Regions from separate parts of the Homo sapiens genome. Here region 1 is linked to region 2. The links are contacts of gene promoters, found by promoter capture Hi-C in blood cells and fetal thymus (Javierre and others, 2016). All regions are on one chromosome and are shown on one strand. The core of a region is centred on a gene start or on the middle of the fragment in contact, and the rest is flanking DNA. Distances in the headings are between cores, read along the strand shown.

Region 1 (4,147 bases), core at 699-3,198, 430 kb after region 2:
ACAGTGAATATATATTACTCTTTTTTTTTTTTTTGGTGACGGGGTTTCACTTTGTCGCCCAGGCTGGAGTATAGTGGCACAATCTTGGCTCACTGCAACGTCTGCCTCCCAGTTTCAAGCGATTCTCCTGCTTCAGCCTCCCAAGTAGCTGGGATTATAGGCTTGCACTAACATGCCCAGCTAATTTTTGTATTTTTTTTTTTAGTAGAGACGGGTTTTCACCATGTTGGCCCGGCTGGTCTCAAACTCCTGACCTCAAGTGATCCACTCACCTCAGCTTCCTAAAGTTCTGGGATTACAGGGGAGAGCCACTGTGCCCAGCCTCTTTTATTTTTTATTTTGTGAGACAGAGTCTTGCTTTGTCACCCACGCTGGAATGCAGTGGCAAAATCATTGCAGCTTGACCTCCAGGGCTCAAGCTATCCTCCCACCTCAGCCTCCTGAGTACCTGTAGGACCACAACACACACCACCATGCCTGGCTAATTTTTAAATTTTTTTTGTAGAGATTATGTCTAGCTATGTTGCCCAGACTGGTCTCAAACTCCTAGGCTCAAGCAATCCTCCCACCTCAGCCTCCCTAGTAGCTGAGACTACAGGCGCACATGCTACCACACCTGGCTAATTTTTTTTTTTTTGAGGCGGAGTCTTGCTGGGCTTAGTGGCGCACACCTGTAGTCCCAGCTACTCAGGAGGCTGAGCCAGGAGAATTGCTTGAACCTGGGAGGCAGAGGTTGCAGTGAGCAGAGACCATGCCACTGTACTCTAGCCTGGGCAACAGAGCAAGAGCCTGTCTCAGAAAAAAAAAAAAAAAAAGATGGGTGTGGTGGCTCACGCCTGTAATCCCAGCACTTTGGGAGGCTGAGGTGGGTGGATCACCTGAGGCCAGGAGTTCGAGACCAGCCTGACCAACATGGTGAAACCTCGTCCCTACTGAAAATACAAAAATTAGCTGGTTATGGTGGTGCGCATCTGTAATCCTGGCTACTTAGGAGGCTGAGGCAGGAAAATCACTTGAACCCAGGAGGTGTTGGTTGTAGTGGGCCGAGGATGCACCACTATACTCCAACCTGGGTGACATAGTGAGACTCTGTCTCGAAAAAAATAAAAAAATAAAAAAATAAAAAAAAGAAAGTGAAGCCCTTGGAAAAGAAAGTGGTATACGTAGTTAAGTATTTAATAGTTTCTCTTATGTTATAGATTATTGGTTATTCCTAATATTAAAAACTAGCATTGTGTATAATCCCTGCACTTTGGGAGGCTGAGGTGGGTGGATTGCTTGAGCCCAGGAGTTTGAGATCAGCCTGGGCAATGCGGCAAAACCCTGTCTCTAAAAAAAAAACCACAGAAAATTAGCCGATCATGGTGGTGAGTGTCTGTAGTACCAGCTACTCGGGAGGTTGAGGTGGGAGGCTCACCTGAGCGTGGGAGGCAGAGGTTGCAGTGGGCCAAGATTGCGCCACTGCACTCCAGCCTGGACAACAGAATGAGACACTGTCTCAAAACAAGCACAAACAAAAAATGAACATTATGTGGCGTTTTATCATAATTGAAGATAGAGACCTTGTCTTACTCTCCCCAGTGCCTCAGTAAATGTCTGTTACATGCATATAACCTTATGTTAAAAGCATAGACTTTATTTGTTGTTGTTGCTGTTGTTGTTTGTTTTTTTTCTTTCCAACTTTTAGGTTCAAGAGGTACATATGCGGGTTTGTTCCATGGGTAAATTGTGTGTCTTGGGGGCTTGGTATGTAGATAATTTTGTCCCCCAGTTAATCAGTATAATACCTGATAGGTAGTTTTTCAATCTTTACCCTCCTCCTACCCTCCACTCTCAAGTAGGCCCGAATGTGTATCCATGTCTTCTTGGTGTCCACGTGTATGCAATGTTTAGCTCCCATTTATGAGTGAGAACATATGATATTTGGTTTTCTGTACTTGTGTTAATTTGCTTAGAATCATGGCCTCCAGCTCCATCTGTGTTGCTGTAAAGCACATGATTTCCTTCTTTTTTATGGCAAAAGCATGGACTTTGATGTCAACCCCTACCTTGCAACTTGCTTTACCATGCAACTTGTGGACAAGTGACTTAAACTTTGATTCTGTTTCTTTAATATGAAAATAAGGCTGGGCGCGGTGGCTCACGCCTGTAATCCCAGCACTTTGGGAGGCCGAGGCGGGCGGATCACAAGGTCAGGAGATCGAGACCATCTTGGCTAACACGGTGAAACCCCGTCTCTACTAAAAATACAAAAAATTAGCCGGGCGCAGTGGCGGGCGCCTGTAGTCCCAGCTACTCGGGAGGCTGAGGCAGGAGAATGGCGTGAACCTGGGAGGCGGAGCTTGCAGTGAGCCAAGATTGTGCCACTGCAATCCGGCCTGGGCTAAAGAGCGGGACTCCGTCTCAAAAAAAAAAAAAAAAAAAAAAAGAAAATAAGAAAAATAATAATATCTACCACATGGGATTATAATAAGGGTTAAATTAGCATATAAAGCAATTAATACTGCACCTGGTTCATTGTAAGTTTTTCATAAATGTGTTAGGTATCGTTATCGTTTAAATTTTGTGCTCTTTACTCAAATCCTTGATTGCCTTTTTTAGTGTCTGTCTACTCTGCAGGCATCAAACTATCAGTGAAATCAAGTATAATACTTTTTGAATATGGTAAGCCAATGTTTGTTTTTATTTTATTGGCCATTTTGTCTTCCTACTTCTCTAGGTATAGTGAACATAGGTGTGAATAATGTCCAGGAGTTGATTATTGCAGCAGACATGCTACAGTTGACTGAAGTTGTTCATCTTTGCTGTGAATTTCTGAAAGGACAAATTGATCCACTGAACTGCATTGGAATTTTTCAGTTCTCTGAGCAAATTGCCTGCCATGATCTCTTGGAATTCTCAGAAAACTACATTCATGTCCATTTCTTGGAGGTTCATAGTGGAGAAGAGTTCCTGGCACTTACGAAAGATCAGCTGATCAAAATTTTGCGAAGTGAAGAGCTTAGCATTGAGGATGAATACCAGGTCTTCTTAGCTGCAATGCAATGGATTCTGAAAGATTTGGGAAAAAGAAGAAAACATGTGGTGGAAGTGCTAGACCCAATTCGATTCCCTTTATTACCTCCTCAGAGACTTTTAAAGTATATAGAAGGTAACTTTTTTGCTATATATCGAATTAGTTGATTAATTATCCAGTGATGTGTTCTCTGAAATGTGGGAGAGTGTTTTCATTTTTTGGTTCAGTAACAGACATTTATTGAATGATTACTCTTTTTTTTTCTTTTTTTAAAATGTATTGAATGATTAAGATACAACTTTTGTGTTCTGTGGGTGGGCAGTAGTATTTTAATATTTCTACCCACTATTTTTATCAAAATCTTTCTTGAGATTGATTACTAAGGCAGATTAGTGTTATAGATAAAAATTACTGACAGAGCTACTAACATACCACTGCTGTTGACAGAACCAATTATTTCAGTTAAGATTTCCTAGGGGGGGTCAGCCCCCCGCCCGGCCAGCCGCCCTGTCTGGGAGGGAGGTGGGGGGGTCAGCCCCCCGCCCGGCCAGCCGCCCCGTTCGGGAGGGAGATGGGGGGTTCAGCCCCCCGCCCGGCCAGCCGCCCCGTCCGGGAGGTGAGGGGCGCCTCTGCCCGGCCGCCCCTACTGGGAAGTGAGGAGCCCCTCTGCCCAGCCACCACCCTGTCTGGGAGGTGTACCCAACAGCTCATTGAGAACGGGCCATGATGACAATGGCGGTTTTGTGGAATAGAAAAGGGGGAAAGGTGGGGAAAAGATTGAGAAATCGGATGGTTGCTGTGTCTGTGTAGAAAGAGGTAGACATGGGAGACTTTTCATTTTGTTCTGTGCTAAGAAAAATTCTTCTGCCTTGGGATCCTGTTGATCTATGACCTTACCCCCAACCCTGTGCTCTCTGAAAAATGGGCTGTGTCCACTCAGGGTTAAATGGATTAAGGGCGGTGCAAGATGTGCTTTGTTAAACAGATGCTTGAAGGCAGCATGCTCGTTAAGAGTCATCACCACTCCCTAATCTCAAGTACCCAGGGACACAAACACTGCGGAAGGCCGCAGGGTCCTCTGCCTAGAAAACCAGAGACCTTTGTTCACTTGTTTATCTGCTGACCTTCCCT
Region 2 (3,815 bases), core at 547-3,046:
CCAGTTTCAAGCGATTCTCCTGCCTCAGCCTCCTGAGTAGCTGGTATTATAGGTGCACACCACCACACCCAGCTAATTTTTGTATTTTTAGTAGAGACAGGGTTTCACCATGTTGACCAGGCTGCTCTCGAGCTCCTGACCTCAAGTCATCCACCCACCTCGGGCTCCCAAAGTGCTGGGATTACAGGCGTGAGCCACCGCACCTGGAACCTTTCTGTTTCATTCTCAGGAAGAATTGGGACCAGATTACATTCATCTATGGCCCTGGTGCTTGGCACATAAGAAGTTGTCAGTGAACATTTCCTGAGTGAATGAGTGCAGAATAATGAGAGTTAAGTGCTCTGGGTTTTGGATCTTGATCATCATGGATTTGCTTCCTGCCTGCCTCTAATTGTGTGACTTCACCTCACTGAGCCCCAGTTTCCTTATACAGTGGATCCTCCTTATTCACAGATTCCATACCTGTGAATTTGCCTGCTTACTGAAATTTATTTGTAATTCCCAAACCAGTACTTGTGGTACTTTTGCAGTCATTCATGGACATGAGCAGAAAGGCAAAAAATTTCAGCCGTCCAACACACGTATTTCCAGCTGAGGTCTGTTGAGCAAGAGGACTCTCTGTCTTCTTATTTCAGTTTTCATAGAGTAAACAAATGTGCTTTTTGGTGGTCTATTTAGTGACGCATATTCTCACATTTTTTGGTGTTTTTTGCTGGTGATTTTACTGTCTAAAATGGTCCCCAGTTGTAGTGCTGAAGTGCTCTCTAGTCTTTCTAAGTGCAAGAAGGCTGTGATGTGCCTTATAGGGGAAATATGTGCTTTAGATAAGTTTCATTCAGGCACAAGTTATAATGCTGTTGGCTGTGAGTTCAATGTCAATGACTCAAATATAGATAGATAGTTAGATAGATAGATAGATAGATAGATAGATATATTTTTTTTTTTTTTGAGACAGAGTTTCACTCTTGTTGCCCAGGCTGGAGTGCAATGGTGCAATCTGGGCTCACTGCAATCTCCACCTCCTGGGTTCAAGCTATTCTCCTGTCTCAGCCTCCTGAGTAGCTGGGACTACAGGCACCCACCACCACACCCAGCTAATTTTTGTATTTTTAGTAGAGATGGGGTTTTGCCATGTTAACCAGGCTAGTCTTGAACTCCTGACCTCAGGTGATCTGCCCACCTCGGCCTCCCAAAGTGCTGGGATTACAGGCTTGAGCCACCATGCCTGGCCAACAATATATATTAAATAAGGTGTCTCCACACATAAAATCAGGTTATATGTATAGATCAGTTGACAAAAATATTGTGACCAGAGGGTTTCAGGAACCTAACCTTGCATTTACCCTTTGTTCAGTATTTAGTGTTTGTGGCGACTTTATAGAACATTACTGGGAATAATGAGAATTGACTGTATATAAATAGGTATAATGATGGCATATCCTTGTAAAGTAGCTGAGATTAAATGAGATAACGTTGGTAAAGTGCTCAGCACAGTGTCTGGCACGTAGTAAGTGCTCAAAAAACATTGTTAATATTGTTACTATATGGATAAGTGAGAAAGTGAGGAAGTGAGTTCCGCCTCTAGGGCCTCTTTTCCCAAGGGGCCAAACTGAGGCTGTCTGGCTCTTGGGCTGGCTTTTAGGCCAGACCCAATAAAGAAGATTGTGAAGGAGCCTGACCCATGAGGAGGGGCCAGGGCCCACGACTTGTAATAAAGGGCCCTGCCCTTATGCAGACTTTGTATGTCATAGAGGCCTCAGCTACCCTGGCCAACAGCACCCCCCAGGCACACTGCAGAAGCTCCCTGTGCCCATGGGGCCATCTCGGCTTGTCCGTGGCCCTCGGCCCCAGGGCATGCGTTCCCCCTACCGCAGGCCAGGTATGGGCTGGCCCAGGCCCCGATTTCCCAGGATGTTCAAGTGTAGCCGCAGAAGATATCAACAGGGTCTCCGAGGTCGAACTGCCAGCAGTGCAGCCATCAATCCTGCCACCAGGGCCATGGGTATCAACAACACCCACACTGACACCACCATAGTGTGGATCTTCCCACCTCAAGGTTAGCCAGGGGGCCTGTGAGCCAGGGTGGGGTTTTAAAAAACAGAGCCACTAGGCTGGGTGCGGTGGCTCATGCCTGTAATCCCGGCACTTTGGGAGGCCAAGGCGGGCAGATCACAAGGTCAGGAGATCGAGACCATCCTGGCTAACACGGTGAAATCCCATCTCTACTAAAAATACAAAAAAAAATTAGCCGGGCGTGGTGGCACACGCCTTTAGTCCCAGCTACTTGGGAGGCTGAGGCAGGAGAATTGCTTGAACCCGGGAGGCAGAGGTTGCAGTGAGCCAAGATCGCGCCACTGCACTCCAGCCTGGGTGACAGAGCTAGACTCTGTCTCAAGAAAAAAAAAAAAAAACCAGAGCCAGTGAAGATTTCCCTACCTGGTTCTGTTTAGGCACGCCAAAGGATGATCTCTGTGAAATAGCACCCCTACATATATGGGGGACTCCTGATGGCAGGCACCCCAAAGTGCTGACAGCCTTAATGGAGGATGGATTGGCTGGAAGCAGAGGGTTTGGGGAGGGGCTGAATCCAAGAGGCAGGGAACTTCCAGAACTGCTTCCTTCCTCAAACTCTTCCCTCTCCTTCCTCTCCTCAGTTCTCAGACATCTCAGGCAACCTGGGATTTTTCTGATCCTCTAGAAGTGCCCAGAAGCTAGCCCAGAAGCTTGGTTTGCCCTGGACCTGCATCTCCTAGGGGCCGTGTGGGTGGTGAACAACAAATACAGTCATTCTGCTCAAACTGCCTTATTCCACACAGAGGTGTTAACCAGCTGACTATGCAGGGCGTGAGGGGAGGGTTATGGCTGAATACTTACAGGGAAAGGCTTCAGTGACCGCAGCAGGGATCATAGTTTAAGACAGCAGGAGGACAGGACAAGGTCAGCAACATAGACCATCTTTGGTCTCAGCTCTTGATCTGCCCCATGAAGTAGGGGCTCTCTTGCCTTACACTCCTAACTGCACAGGGAGAAGGGTCTCTGTAAACATCTTGGAAGGTATTGGGAGGCACAGATCAGAGAGGGATAGGATGAAAGACTGAACCCTGAGAGTACACAAGTATGAGGTGGATGTGAGGTGGATGTGCCTCTGTGTGCCTGTGATGGTCAGCGTGTAGGTGTAGCTGCTGGTGTGTGTGTCTGAGGCCGGGAGAATAGGAGTATCAGTAGATGTGGCTGAATGTGCCTTTGTGATTTAATGTGCCTCTGTGACTGACTGTGAGTGTCAAGGAGCGTTTGTGAGGGTATGGGTGTGCCGGAGAGGACATCAGCCCTGGTAAGAAAAGTGAAGGTCAGGAGGGGGATGGGGAACAGCCTAAAGGAGGAGAACATGGAGAAGGGTGAGATTCTGAGAAAGGCATACTACCTTCGGCCCTTCAACCATTCTCTGAGGTCAGTGTTTTCCAGAACTGGCAGCTGAGCTGGGGTGCTTAGGGGTGGGGCAAGACTGAGTTTGAGCCCAGAAAGTAGGGAGGGTGCTAAGCTCTCTGGCCTGGGGATTTTCCATTTGGATTTCTGAGTGTGTGCTCATGTGTCACTGGCTGTAACCGGGTTTCTGTGGGGTTGTGTCTTAGTCGCTGGGAACATTTTGTAGGACTCTGTCTCGAATATGTTGCATCATGCATGGGCTAATACGTGTTGCACCGGTCCGAGATCTGGCTGCATTTCCAGGCTACCTTCCCAAGGGGCTAGGGAAGGGAGTGAACCCTGAGACCTTTGGTGGCCTGGCCCCCTGGGGTTCAGGAAGTGTGGCTAATGTC

The links. Contacts are between HindIII fragments. The CHiCAGO score rates a contact against its expected background, and 5 or more counts as called.
Region 1: a contact is called between a fragment that was not itself captured here and the fragment with the promoter of P3R3URF in region 2, in 1 of 17 cell types (M1 macrophages). The highest score is 5.5, in M1 macrophages.

Annotation. Positions count from the first base shown.
Region 1 is chr1:45,739,905-45,744,051 of GRCh38, reverse strand. IPP (intracisternal A particle-promoted polypeptide) reads left to right here. Exons shown (of 9, transcript NM_005897.3): 3 at 2,720-3,151. Among named protein-coding and RNA genes, the nearest start is that of IPP, 8.7 kb to the left of the region's middle. The HindIII fragment of the contact is 9,851 bases long and covers 1-4,147 here.
Region 2 is chr1:46,174,469-46,178,283 of GRCh38, reverse strand. P3R3URF (PIK3R3 upstream open reading frame) reads left to right here and starts at 1,796. Exons shown (of 2, transcript NM_001328655.2): 1 at 1,796-2,056; 2 at 2,655-2,798. The coding sequence starts at 1,813. The coding sequence ends at 2,698. P3R3URF-PIK3R3 (P3R3URF-PIK3R3 readthrough) reads left to right here and starts at 1,796. Exons shown (of 10, transcript NM_001303427.2): 1 at 1,796-2,056. The coding sequence starts at 1,813. TSPAN1 (tetraspanin 1) reads right to left here and starts at 3,197. Exons shown (of 9, transcript NM_005727.4): 1 at 2,875-3,197. It also overlaps a transcript of PIK3R3 not described here. The HindIII fragment of the contact is 5,416 bases long and covers 1-2,725 here.